Linked DNA regions of Homo sapiens: region 1 is linked to region 2. The links are contacts of gene promoters, found by promoter capture Hi-C in blood cells and fetal thymus (Javierre and others, 2016). All regions are on one chromosome and are shown on one strand. The core of a region is centred on a gene start or on the middle of the fragment in contact, and the rest is flanking DNA. Distances in the headings are between cores, read along the strand shown.

The links. Contacts are between HindIII fragments. The CHiCAGO score rates a contact against its expected background, and 5 or more counts as called.
Region 1: a fragment that was not itself captured here is called in contact with the fragment with the promoter of KIF27 in region 2 in 1 of 17 cell types (monocytes); the score reaches 5.7 in monocytes.

Annotation. Positions count from the first base shown.
Region 1 is chr9:85,562,972-85,566,253 of GRCh38, forward strand. All of the region lies in intron 25 of AGTPBP1 (ATP/GTP binding carboxypeptidase 1), which reads right to left. Among named protein-coding and RNA genes, the nearest start is that of AGTPBP1, 180 kb to the right of the region's middle. The HindIII fragment of the contact is 1,867 bases long and covers 391-2,257 here.
Region 2 is chr9:83,920,031-83,923,255 of GRCh38, forward strand. It overlaps KIF27 (kinesin family member 27), which reads right to left and starts at 1,402. Exons shown (of 18, transcript NM_017576.4): 1 at 1,341-1,402. It overlaps LOC105376335 (serine/arginine repetitive matrix protein 1-like), which reads left to right and starts at 871. Exons shown (of 3, transcript XM_011519284.2): 1 at 871-1,231; 2 at 1,324-1,668. The coding sequence starts at 871. RefSeq lists enhancers at 934-1,683, 2,298-2,802 and silencers at 1,005-1,384, 1,415-1,564. The HindIII fragment of the contact is 5,103 bases long and covers 1-3,225 here.

The sequences.
Region 1 (3,282 bases), core at 74-2,573, 1.6 Mb after region 2:
CAACCCTTCTGCCATATGAGGTTACAGTGAGATGACCACTGTCTATCAAAGAACAAGGCCCTCCCCAGACACTGAATCTGCTGATGCCTTGATCTTGGACTTCCCTGTCTCCAGAACTGTAAGAAATAGATTTCTCCTGTTTATAAGGTATCCAGTGTACGGTATTTTGTCACAGTAGCTCAAACAGACCAAGACAGAAACTGACACCAAGAACTGGGGGTGCTATTGTAACAAACATGTAAAAATGTGGCAGCAGTTTTGGAAGTGGGTAGTGAGTAAAAGCTGTAAGAGTATGGAGGTGCTTGCTACAAAAGGGATACATGGCTGTGAATGGCCCATAAAGAGCAATTCTGGTGAGGCTCAGAAAGAAAACAGGAAAGCTATAGAGAAAGCTTCAGACTTCTTAAAGAATACTTAATAATCCTGATAGAATGTTGGTAGAAATACGACAGTAAAGGCCATTCTGATGAGGTCTCAGATGAAAATGAGGATATTTGGCCAAGGAAATTTCTAAGCAAACTGTTGAAGGTATGGCTTGGCTTCTCTTGATTGCTTATAGTAAAATGCAAGACAAGAGAAATTAAAGATGGAATCATTCACGAGAGAGGAAGCAGAACTTAAAAATTTGGAAAACTCTCACCCTGTCTATATTGTAACAAACGAGAAAGACAGTTTGGGAGGAGAGAATACCAAGGGTGTAGCAAAAGGACCAACTGATAAGGCATAAAGTCAGCCAAATAAACAGAGCCAGGAGCTATTGTCCAAGACAAGAAAAGAACGACCACCCTCCCTGACAGGCAATTCAGAGATCATCAGAGTGGTTTCAAAAGAGGAGCCACCTGTGCCTGCAGGTTCACACACTCCACTCCCTGCAGTCTGGCACCCTGCTCCTCTGCAGCACAAGGTGAGGCTCTGGAAGGCCCAGGTGTGGTACACATGCAGTGGTCACCACTTCAGAGGGCACAGGCATTTGGCAGCATCCATGTGTGCTGTCTCTGCTGAGCCCCAGAATTCACCAGCCTGGGAAGCATGGTTACCTCCACCTAGATATCGAAGGATGGAGCCACAGGCACAACACCCAGGTAAGGAACCACCACAAGGGCAAGGCCACCACAAAGAGCTGCTACTAGGGCAAGGCCCAGCAAAGCCATGGGGGCAGGACTGCCTGGAGGCTTAGGGATCCAACCAATGGCCAGCAAAACTGCAGGGATGGAGCCTCCACTCTAGTGTGTCCAGAAGGTGGAACGGCAGCCCCAGTGGGCCTGAAGAGCAGAGAATGCAGCTAAAGATCATTTTCAAGCCTTCAGGTTTTGGACATGCTCAAGAATTGTCACTTCTTTTTCTTTTTGGAATAAAAATGTCTGTCCTGTTCTTGTCCTACCATTGTATTTTAGAAGCACCTAACTTGGTTGATTCCACAGGCTCACAGCTAAAGGAAAATTTGCCTCAGGACAAATTATACCTTGAATCTCACCCATATCTGATTTAAATGACACAGTCATATGCTCCAATGATGTTTCAGTCAACGATGTAATGCATATATGACAGTGGTCCCAATTATAATACCATATTTTTACTGTGCTTTTTCTATATTCAAATATGTTCAAATACAGAAATACTTCCCATTGTGTTACAATTATATATAGTATTCCATACGGTCACATGCTGTACAGGCTTGTAGCCTAGGAGCAATAGGCTATACCATATAGCCGAGGTGTGTAATGGGCTATACCATCTAGGTTACTACAAATACACTATATGATATTCATACGATGATGAAATCACCTAACAACACATTTCTCAGAATGTATTCCTATTGTTAAACGATGCATGACTATATTCAGATGAGTCTTTGGACTTTAAACTTTTGAGTTAATGTTGGAATAAGCGAACATTTTGGGACTATTGAGATGGAAATGATGTATTTTGCTTGTGAGAAGGACATGAATTTTGGGATGGGAACAGGGATGAAGGGTAATGAACTGAATGTTTATGTCACATGAGGTTACAGTGAGAAGAAGGCCACCTATGAGGAAGCAGGCCCTCACCAAACACCAAATCAGCCATTGCCTTGCTCTTGGACTTCACAATCTCCAGAACTGTGAGACATAAATTTCTGTCATTTATAAGCCATCCAGCCTATTGTATTTCATTATGGCAGCCTGAGCTGACTAGGACAACATCTGTCAATGAGTTACTACTTATGTTGAAAAAGACATTTAATGTAAATATTTATTCTTATTGCTGCAAGTATTCAAGCTTATTTGATATACATTGCCTACAAATGAAAATAAATTAATTTATAACAGATACTGTATCTCGGGAAATAGTTAAAACCAAGAAGGATAAAACTGAATTGAGGGCTAAGTTGTGGAATAACACGATCCACACTGCAGACAGGTTGAATAAAGCAAAATTCTGGCAGGGAAAGATGGATTTGAAAAATTATGAAAGGGTGAACTCAACTAAAAAAAAAGTTAGGGGAATTTATATTCATTAACTTGATACCTCAGTTTCACATTACGACCAGGAAATAGATTAAAAATTACAAGGACAAAGAAGGGATCCAGAAGAGCACAGACAATAAAGAGAAAAGGACAGGGGGGTGATCTTAGTAAAAGGTAAGTGGTCTCCTAGTTCCATCTCTAACACTGTCATTTACCCTTTTCACTTACACTTGGAAATGTGTCTTCCCCTACTGATTCCATGCTGCCAAATGCCTGTGCCCTACTGATTCCATATTCATCATTATGACCCTCCAATGCTACCTAATACTATCTCCTCAAGCAATCATTGCCCCTTATCCTCACTATTCTTATTGGAGCACTCATCCTCGTCTCAAATGTAAATGATTCCAAACACCTTCCTTAAGAATTTTTTTGCCTCCACCTTCCCAGTTTCAAAAAAATGCATATACTTCTTTCAGGTAAAATAGTGGCATACTTTGCCAGTGGCTTTAAAACTCCCAAATGACTAAAGGATAAAGTCTAATGTGCTTACATGGTTAATTTGGGCACTATAAGACAGTGCTCTTCCCAGAAATCTAATTCAATTGAATTTTTAAATCTGACATAGCTACCTACCTCTTATTCAACTCAATATGTGACTGGCACACATTGCAAGGTACCATGAATGGCACATTATGCAGCACTAAAGGGCACAGATATAGTCTCTGCACTAAAGGGCACAGATATAGTCTCTGGGGTTAACTAGGAGTTAGCCAGGCAAAGTGTGAGCAAAAGGCTTCTCTTAAAAGTTGGTATTGAAGCCAGGCACAGTGGC
Region 2 (3,225 bases), core at 152-2,651:
AGACCAGCCTGGGCAACATGGTGAAACCCTGTCTCTACTAAAAATACAAGAATGTGCCAGGCTGTGGTGACGCACCTGTAGTCCCAGCTACTTGGGAGGCTGAGATTGGAGGATCGCTTGAGCCCGGGAGGTTGAGGCTGCAGTGTGCCACTGCACTCCAGCCTGAGTAACAGAGCGAGACCCTGTCTCAAAACAAAACAAACAAACAATAGTAATGGTCCACAAACATAGGGCTTGTAAAACATCAATATACAAGAAATAAAGTTTTTACACAATCCATAGCACTTATACTTCAGATTCTGATCAATTATAGTCATCAGAAACATACGTATTATGTTGCCAATAAATGATTTAAAAAAAAGCAAAATCTGATTGGTCGTATTTAAGTATACTCAACGGGTTTTTGAAATCTGAGCAAAGGCAAGAGAAATATTGAATCCCTCATGTCATGTCACTGGTCAGGAATGAGTGTCTCCAAAAACCGTTGCCATCCCGTACCCTTGATTTCCCAGAAAGCAGTGGTTGTCTTAAATGTGTGGTTTGTTAATTATTTTCATAAAAAACTTGCCAGTAGATGGACAGTAAATCGCATACGGAGCTCAGAAAAGGCCCCAAATGCGTAAAGACGACAAAAGAGTAAAGAAGGGCAAACAACAAGGATTTTCAACACTGGAGACTTAAAAGGTGTTACTTAAAAGGTGTTTCAAAGAAAGAATCTGGGCGCTTTGCTCTTTATAGTCACCTGCCTCCGAGGGAGGGAGCTCTCGGGCTTGAATGTGCCCAAGGTTCAACCTCTACGGTAGGAAATGCGCCCAAGTTTCAACCTCTACGGTGGGAAATGCGCCCAAGTTTCAACCTCTACGGTGGGAAATGCGCCCAAGTTTCAACCTCTACGGTGGGAAAAAGACGCCTGCGATAAAACAAAGCGCTCGGTGGTGGTGGCCCTCGCGTCGCACCTCACGCCGTGCAGCGACACGAGACGAACACAGGGTGCGCTCTGAAAGGCCGGGTCCCGCGTTCCGGTCGATCGGTGTTCCCCGGGACCCGCTCCTCAGGGCTGACCCAACTTCCTCCGGAAGGGGCGCTCTGCCTCTAGTCGCTCGCCGGCTCCCAGCCCCGACCCCAGACCCCTCGGACGCCCCCATAGGCCTAGCTGGCGCCCCAACCGCCCACCCTCCGCTACCCACCCGCGGCGGCCCCGACCCCAAGCCGGAGCCTACTAGTCCCAACGGCCGGCTGGGGGCGCGGGAGCGGCGGGCGCGGCGGGCTGGAGGGCGGGCACCGCGAAGGGAGGGCGCCCCACTTCCCCGCACCGCCCGCCAGGCCCGCCGAGCACTGACCGGCTCGGGACAGCCCAGGCCCCTGTCGGCGAGCGCTGGACTCCTCAGCTTCGCTCTGCCACACCGCGCAGCCGCCGTCCGCGTCTTTTGTTGTCGCGAGTTCTCCTGGCAACCGGCGAAGCCCGCCTCCCGCCGCGTCCTCTCCTGGATGCCGCGTCCTGGCCCCGCCCCCATCCTGGCCACGCCTCCAAGCCCGCCGCGCAGGAGTCCTGCGTCCCCAGGAAGTCCGCAAAGGGCCGGCCCCTGGGCTTGCCTGCAAATCCGAGTTGTGTCCCACCAACGCGCTGGGACCGGTCTGTGAGGCCTGAGCGCAAGCATCTTTCTACGGGTTCGTGAAATGAGTGAGAACGATTCCACACCGTGTTTCAATATCTTAGCTACCAATTCAGTTTATTTTTATTTTTATTGAGTAAAACTTGCCTAACATAAACCATCTTAAAACTCACAATTCAGTGGCGTTTAATGCATTCACAGTGTTGTGCAACCATCACCTCTGTATATAGTTCAGAAACATTTTCATAACCCCAAAAGAAAATCCCCAAACCAGTTAGCAGTCATTCCTTCTGGTTCCCCTCTCCCCACAACCCCAGCCAGCCACTAATCTACTTTCTGACTCTGTGATAGCTTTACCTATTCTGGGCATTTCTTTATTGATGGAATCATTCAGTATATGACCTTTTGTGTCTAGCTTCTTTTGCTTAATGTTTTCAAGATGCAGTCATGTTGTAACATCTATCAGGACTTCTTTTCTTTTTTTTCTTTTCTTTTTTTTGAGACCGAGTCGCGCTCTGTCGCCCAAGCTGGAGTGCAGTGGCGTGATCTCGGCTCTCTGCAACCTCCACCTCCCGGGTTCAAGCGATTCTCCTGCCTTAGCCTCCCGAGTAGCTGGGATTACAGGCGCGTGCCACCACGCCCGGCTAATTTTTTGTATTTTTAGTAGAGACGGGGTTTGTTTCACTGTGTTAGCCAGGATGGTCTTGATCTCCTGACCTCGTGATCTGCCCGCCTCGGCCTTCCAAAGTGCTGGGATTACAGGCGTGAGCCACCACGCCCGGCCCTTTAGATGGAGTTTCGCTCTTATTGCCCAGGCTGGAATGCAATGGCGCCATCTAGGCTCAACGCAACCTCCACCTCATGGGTTCAAGCGATTCTCCTGCCTCAGCCTCCGGAGTAGCTGGGATTACAGGCATGAGCCACCCTGCCCGGCCCTATCAGGACTTTTTAGGGCTGAAAAAATTCCATTGTATGGATATAGACATACCACATTTTGTTTATCCATTCTTCAGCTGGTGGTGGACATTTGGGCTGTTTCCATGCTGCTATGGACATTCACATACAATATTTGGATGTCTGTTTTCAGTTCCTTTTTTTTTTTTGAGATGGAGTCTCGCTCTGTTGCCCAGGCTGGAGTGCAGTGGCGCTATCTCAACTCACTGCAAGCTCCGCCTCATGGGTTCAAGCAATTCTCCTGCCTCAGCCTCTGGAGTAGCTGGGATTACAGGCATGTGCCACCACCACGCCTGGCTAAGTTTTCTGTATTTTTAGTAGAGACGGGGTTTCACCATGTTGGTCAGGCTGGGCTCGAACTCCCGACCTCAGGTGATCCGCCCACCTTGGCCTCCCAAAGTGCTGGGATTATAGGCGTGAGCCACCGCGCCGAGCCTGTTTTCAGGTCTTTTAGGTATGGACGTAAGAGTGGAATTGCTGGGTCGTATGGTAATATTTAACTTTACCAATTTAGTTTTAAATGCTTTAATGCCTCCTGTTTTTAGTAGCACAATCTAAGCATCTTCAAAAACCCTTCCTTCTCTCATGAAATATAGGAATGAAGGTGGGGGAAAAAAGCTGACTATTTTATTTATAGTTTTTATTTTTTTTTCTTTTA